Linked DNA regions of Homo sapiens: region 1 is linked to region 2. Evidence: promoter capture Hi-C in 16 types of primary human blood cells and fetal thymus (Javierre and others, 2016). All regions are on one chromosome and are shown on one strand. The core of a region is centred on a gene start or on the middle of the fragment in contact, and the rest is flanking DNA. Distances in the headings are between cores, read along the strand shown. Region 1 overlaps RPUSD4 (RNA pseudouridine synthase D4). Region 2 holds the start of BUD13 (BUD13 spliceosome associated protein).

Region 1 (3,112 bases), core at 613-3,112, 9.4 Mb before region 2:
CAGAGTTATCGAGCATATATAAGCATATTACTGTATGCTAGTGTATTTCACACAGAGTTTTGTACCCTACAGTTTTCACTTGGATCATATATCTTAGAGCATTTTGTGTCATACGTTTAGAGCTGTCTCCTTTTTAATTGCTCTGTGAAATACCGCTGTATGGATGGATATTTAGGTAATTTCTCATTTTTTAGAGCCTATTGCAAAGAATATGTGAATGTATTTTTAAGATAAATTTCTAAAAATTGAATCGCTGGGCTGAATGGTTTGTATATTTAAATTTTAATAGTACTCACATTGCTCTCCACAAAGGTTTTTTATCAGTTTACATTCCCACCAGCAGTGGTGAGTACCCACCTCCCCTTATCAGCCAAAGCATTTTTAAAGGGTTTGCCACTGTGATAAGTTAAAAAAAAAAAAGATATTTTCTATTTCCTTGTATAACAGTGATATTGGCTATCAATTTACATGTTTTTTACATGTTTATTGGCTATTTGAGTTTCCCTTTTGGGAACAGACTGATTATTTCTTTTGCCTATTTTTCTACAGGGTTGTTTATTATTATTATTTTTTTTTATTTAAGACCGTGCCTGGCCTTTTTTTTTTGAGATGGAGTCTTGCTGTGTCACCCAGGCTGGAGGGCAGTGGCACAATCTTGGCTCACTGCAACCTCCTCCCTGGTTCAAGTGGTTCTCATGTTTCAGCTAGCTGGAATTACAGGCACATGCCACCATGCCCAGCTAATTTTTGTATTTTTAGTAGAGATGGGGTTTCAGCCTGTTGGCCAGGCTGGTCTTGAACCCCTGACCTAAAGTGATCTGTCCATCAAAGTGCTAGGATTACAGCGCTTACAGCTCACAGGCGTGAGCCACTGTGTCTGGCCCAGGTTGTTTATTCTTTTCTATTTGATTTGTAAGTATTCATTTTATATTTTGAATGTTAGTCCTTTTTAGATTACAGATTTTGCAGATACTTTGTGAATCTGAGGAGCCCTTTAAAAATATGTATGATTGAGACTTACCCACAGAAGTTCTCATTCGTAAGTGTGGTGGTTGTGGGGATTGGCATCTGTATTTTAAAATTTGATATACAATCAAATTTAAGAACTATGATAAGATTATGGAGAATGGAGGAATTTAGGACAGTAGCTAAGACCTCAAAAAGATGTGTGTTCAACTCTCAACTGTGTCATTTAACAGCTGTGGGGCCTTGGGCAGGTTATTAAATGTCCATAAGCTTTGTTTTCTTCATCTGAAAAATGGAAACAGTAGGATTTATGAGATAGTTAAATAAGATTGATTCTTGTGAAATGTTTAACACAGTACCTAGTTCATAGGAAAAGTTAAAAAATAAAAAATAGAGACTTATTTTTCTATTCAAGCAATCAAAATATTAAGACTATAAAATACATGTTATGTTATTTGTGAAAAATGTCCATTAAGGTTCAAAATTGGTAACCATTCTCGGTATCAGGTTCATGGAGGAATTGAAATCAATCAGTTGGGTCTTGCTGATGGAACATTCTTGAGTTGTAGTGTCATATCATTAGGAAGGACATTCTTGTCACAGAAGATCTACAAAATCTGTAAAATACGATAAAATGTACCAGATAGTAGCTGAAACTGAAGTGGAGTGTCTGCGTTGTGAAATAGTGTGTGTGAGTAGGATTTTGACCCCGTGGTTAGTGATTATACAACCGACCACCAGGTACCCAGATGGACTTTTCCATCATTGACCTGAAAGAGGCATAAATTTACAGACAGATTAAACAGTCTTCTACCTGTCTGTGAGGTCATGAGGTCATGGGAGGGAGAACACCAACAGAAGTGATTTGGAATGAGTTATTGAGTTGTGGTTGTGGTACCTATGACTTCTTTCTTTCTTTTTTTAGACGGAGTCTTGCTGTGTCTCCCAGGCTGGAGTGCAGTGGCATAATCTTGGCCCACTGCAACCTCCACCTCCTGGATTCAAGCGATTCTCATGCCTCAGCCTCCCAAGTAGCTGGAATTACAGGCACGCGCCACCACGCCTGGCTGATTTTTTTTTTGTATTTTTAGTAGAGATGGGGTTTCACCATGTTGGCCAGGCTGGTCTTGAACTCCTGACCTGAAGTGATCCACCCGCCTTGGCCTCCCAAAGTATTGGGATTACATGTGTGAGCCACCACGCCTGTCCCCTGTGACTTCTTCGGGTACAGTTCCCTCCTGTTTTACCTATGTGGCAAATGAGCCAGGAACGGTTCTCTGAATGTTTTATTAGGTTCATTCATCCAATTATTCATTTGTTCATTTACCATGCAGTCAGAATCTACAATCTTTTATTATTTGAAAAAAAATACAAAACTATATTACCATAATTTTATTTTAACTGTACATATCCATTTTTAAAGACTGGAAAGACCATGTTATTAATGTAATTTTTTTCTTTTTTTACCCCAAATATTCTACAATTAGCATGTATGACTTTAGTAGTAAAAAAGATAAGCTTGTGAAATCTATCAGCTCTCAGGCTAAGCATTACACCAAGAGAATCTTGCACGATCCTTCAATCATAAGAAATCACATGTTAGTGCAGAAGGTCCAGCGTGAAATCCTCTAAGTGGCCAAATCTAGGAGTTCTTCTCTGGCTTGGTTGGCTAAAGCAGTGATCTGTGTCACCCCCAGGGCCATCACTGTGCATGTCCCCATGCCCTCAGCAGGAGTCGTGGACATCCCCATTGTGGAGAAGGAGGCGCAAGGCCAGCAGCAACACCACAAGGTGAGCGAGCAGCCTCCCTGAGGCATGGGTTGCTGCTCTTCCTTGGGAATCATATCTTGATTTCTTTGGCTTCAGATGACATTGTCCCCGAGCTACCGCATGGACGATGGGAAAATGGTGAAAGTGCGGCGCAGCCGGAATGCGCAAGTTGCTGTAACTCAGTACCAGGTGCTCAGCAGCACTCTCTCCTCCGCCCTCGTGGAGCTCCAGCCCATCACTGGTGAGAGTGTCACTTTTCCGCAGTGGGATCACAAAACCCTGTGCCACCAGGTTTTGTCCAGGGCCTCGTTCTGAGCAGCTAGTAGTGTGGCTGACTTGTGTGAGAATGTGCTTCTGGTGCTGATCTGAGGCCGGG
Region 2 (3,970 bases), core at 93-2,592:
TAAGACAAGTTCTGGGAATCTAATGTACAACATGTTGACTATAGCTAATAATTCTGTATTGTTTACTTGAAGTTTGCTAAGACAAATTTGCTTAAGTGCCCCCCCACCGAACTACTACATAAATTAGTGAAGGATGTTTTACTTAATTTGATTTTGGTAATCATTACACAATGTATAATTATATCCAGTCATCACATTGTACACCTTGAATATATATAATTTTTTGTCAAATAATAAAGCTGGGAAGAAAACGATAAAACTGACAATCTAACATATATGATGAGGTAAAAAGATCTGGTATTTCAAGAAATTTGGATGACCTCTTGCACCCCACTTCGCTAGCCTCTACTCCCTAGAGTCATGTTCTGACTATGTGAAGTTGAGCAACTTCCTTAATCTTGCCACGCTTCAGTTCTTATCTGTAAAATATGATAATGAAACGATTTGAGAATTGTGAGGGTTAAATGAGATAATTCAGGTAAAGCTCTAAACCCCCTGCAAAGAATAAAGTCTTTTCTTTCCCCCCAAAACTTGAGTGTTAGAATTCATTCTCTCTGGTTTCTCTCTTTTACTATGCTAAAAAATGATCCAGGTCCGTCCTTCTCATTGGCAAGATTGTTTTACAGTTTCCTTCAAGAGATAACTGGGGGCTACTTGTAATAGAACACTAGAAGAGTTACACAGGTCTTAGAAACTACGTTTTTCATAGTAATTATGTTGGTTTGCACTTCCTGGCTTCCTTTCTTGGACGGTAGGTACCTGGAAGCCTAGTGGAGCAGATTCCCCCCACTTAAAGATACTTATAAAAATAACGAACATAGTTCCGATGACCATGTGCCCAACACCGCTCTGCGCACTTCACACAGTAATATCATCTCAGCCTGTGACCGTTCCGAGTTAGGTGCCGGGATTCTCCCTGTTTTGTGATAACTTGCCCGAGGTCGTACAGCTAGCCAGCTATGGAACCAGTATTCAAACTCGGCTACGCTGCAGCCCGTGGCCCTCCACTTTCTTGCTCGTGCTCTGGAGTTTAGGCGGCCGATGGGGGCGGGGTCCTTTGGGTCAGGTTGTGGCCTCATAGAACAGCGCTTGCTGCGGTTGGATGGATGGGTGGGTGGGTGGGTGAGTGAATGAAGAGAAGAAACCTGGTGGCGTCGTCCCAGGGCTGTGGAGCGCCCCGAAGGTGCGCACGTCCCTGGCTAGCCTGCGAGCGCGTCCCGGTGGCCGCACCTGCCAGCCGCGCGATTCTTAGCACTCTCCGCCACTTCCGGCCGTGGCCCCGCCCTGTCGGGTGGCTGGCGTCCGTTACGCGTTGAGGCATTTTGTCCCCAGCGCCGACCCGTCTCTCTGCCCCCGCCGCTGCCATGGCGGCAGCTCCGCCGCTTTCCAAGGCCGAGTATCTGAAGCGTTACTTGTCCGGGGCAGATGCCGGCGTCGACCGGGGATCTGAGTCCGGTCGCAAGCGTCGCAAAAAGCGGCCGAAGCCTGGCGGGGCCGGCGGCAAGGGGTGAGTTGGTACCGGCCGGGGCGGGGCCTGCGACGTCTAGCCACCCCTTCCCAACTCCGCCCTCGGCCGCCCGGCAGTTCCTTCCCTCTTGGCGGGTCTCTCGGCTTCTCCGCCGACCCCTGCTCATGCTCAGGGCCCCACTCACATCGCTTGAGGCCCCCCGCCTTGCCTCTGCCGCCCCGCTTACATCTCGAGCCTCTGAGCAGTAGCGTCAGTGCGTTAAAGCCGGGGTGTAACTTTGATTACTCTTTTCCCGCCTTGGTAGACTTCCGTCCTCTCCCATAGAGAATGAATATTGTGCCTCGAGAATAATGGAGCGGATTCAAAGCCTCTGTGCTTGGATCTTTAGGGCCCGGTACCTGCCTGTGGGGATTCCCAGATCCCAAGGACTTGGTTCTGAATCAGAGACCTTTGATCACCTCCTGTTACTCTTAGTAATAGTCCTAACGTGAGAAGCTAACATTTATATAGTTATACTTTTCTTGCCAGGCACCATTATAAGAAATTTAAACATATATAAGTTTATTTAAGCCTCACCACACTACCATGAAGTGGGTATTATTTTCATATGGGACAACTTTGTGGCCCAGTGTAGTGGGCCCTACCAAATCGTTTTCCACCCAGAACCACAGAATGTGACATTTAGAAATAGGGTCTTTGGAGATGTAATCAGTTAAGATGAGGTCATACTTGATTAAGGTGGGTGCCAAATCCAAGATGACTGTTTGCCTTTTAAAAAGAGGGAAGTATGGATACAGACACAGCAACAAAGGAAAAACGACCATGTCTAGATGAAGGCTGAGATTGGATTGGATTTATGTTGCCAAAAGCCAAGGTATGCTTGGGGCTACCAGAAGCTGGGAGAGGCAAGGAAAGATTCTCTGCTAGAGACTTTCCAGGGAGGATGGCCTTGCAGACACCTGGATTTCAGATTGCTAGCTTCCAGAACTGCGAGAGAGTTTCTGTTGTTTTATGCCACGCAATTTGTGGTACTTTGTTACAGTAACCCTAAGGCACTGAGATACCCAGTGAAGTCACATTGTTCTAAAGAACTAGTCCAAGTTCTTTTCTGGTTTGGTGCTTGCCTTATTATTGTCTTCGTCTTTCTGCCTCGCTGACTTGTGTGGATCCTTTGGAGGCAGTGCCATGTGATGAAAGTAGCTTGAGTGTTGGAGCAGCACTGGTCAGAGTTCGAATCCTAGCTGTGCCACTTTATAGGCTGTGTACCCTTGGGCAAGGTGTTTCATCTCACTGAGCTGCAGTTTCCTTATCTTTAAAATGAGAATAATAATAATAATGGTTTTATTAAGTGGTGGTTGTGATTAGAGGGATTGCATTAAGTGACCCTGGCTTTTTGAATAACTTCACATCATGGCAGTCATTGTTATTATTTGGGCTCAGCTATATAGTTTATCCACGTAACAAACATTTATTGAATATTTCGTATTCCAGTTACTGTAGGGTGTTGAGGATGCCTCTGTGAACAAAAAAAACATAGTCCCTGTTCTTGTGGAGCTTATAGATTAATGGGAATACAGGCTTTAAGCAACTAATTACACAACTAATCGATATATTTTCTTTATGATAAATGCAATGAAAGTATTCCAAGAGTTTTTAACAAGGGTTCTTAGTCTTGAGTGAGTGTGGGATGGTGAGGGAATTGGGTGAAGCAGTCAAGAAAAGTTTGCCAAAGGAAGTTAAATTTGTGTTAGGACCTGAAGAATGAGGAAGAGTTTCCTGGAATGAGAAAGAGTTTCCTAGCACTTTGGGAGGCCAAGGCGGGTGGATTGCTTGCATCTAGGAGTTTGAGACCAGTCTGGGCAACATGGTGAAACCCTGTTTCTACAAAAAATACAAAAAAGTAGTCAGGCACAGTGGCACATGCCTGTAGTCCCAGCTACTTGGGAGACTGAGTAGGGAGAATAACTTAACCCCGGGAAGTCAAGGCTGCAGGGAGCCATGATGGTGTCCCTGCACTCCAGCCTGGGCAGCAGTGTGAGACCCTGTCTCAAAAAAGAAAAAGACTAGGGCCGGGCGCGGTGGCTCACGCCTATAATCCCAGCACTTTGGGAGGCCAAGGCGGGCGGATCACGAGGTCAGGAGATCGAGACCATCCTGACTAACACGGTGAAACCCCGTCTCTACTAAAAATACAAAAAATTAGCCAGGCGTGGCAGTGGTCGCCTGTAGTCCCAGCTACTCAGGAGGCTGAGGCAGGAGAATGGTGTGAACCCGGGAGGCAGAGCTTGCAGTGAGCTGAGATCGTGCCACTGCACTCCAGCCTGGGCAACAGAGCGAGACTCCGTCTCAAAAAAAAAAAAAAAGAAAAAGATTGAAAAGAGTAGATCAGGCAGAGGGAAGGAACTGCATATGTGAAAACTGATGTGATAGGAACTTGGCTCCTTTCTAAGCACCAAAGGATGACCAGGGAGGTGTTCAACCAAGGAAGTAGCAGTAGGAGAT

Evidence for each region. The method cuts DNA at HindIII sites, captures the fragments that hold promoters and counts their contacts. A CHiCAGO score of 5 or more calls a contact.
Region 1: a contact is called between a fragment that was not itself captured here and the fragment with the promoter of BUD13 in region 2, in 1 of 17 cell types (naive CD8 T cells). The highest score is 5.4, in naive CD8 T cells.

The regions. Positions count from the first base shown.
Region 1 is chr11:126,205,333-126,208,444 of GRCh38, reverse strand. It overlaps RPUSD4 (RNA pseudouridine synthase D4), which reads left to right. Exons shown (of 7, transcript NM_032795.3): 4 at 2,664-2,757; 5 at 2,833-2,977. Among named protein-coding and RNA genes, the nearest start is that of RPUSD4, 4.8 kb to the left of the region's middle. The HindIII fragment of the contact is 1,248 bases long and covers 1,239-2,486 here.
Region 2 is chr11:116,770,359-116,774,328 of GRCh38, reverse strand. BUD13 (BUD13 spliceosome associated protein) reads left to right here and starts at 1,342. Exons shown (of 10, transcript NM_032725.4): 1 at 1,342-1,507. The coding sequence starts at 1,365. ZPR1 (ZPR1 zinc finger) reads left to right here. Exons shown (of 14, transcript NM_003904.5): 14 at 1-530. It overlaps BUD13-DT (BUD13 divergent transcript), which reads right to left and starts at 858. Exons shown (of 2, transcript NR_186226.1): 1 at 818-858; 2 at 124-419. RefSeq lists an enhancer at 794-883 and a silencer at 1,004-1,203. The HindIII fragment of the contact is 6,866 bases long and covers 1-3,970 here.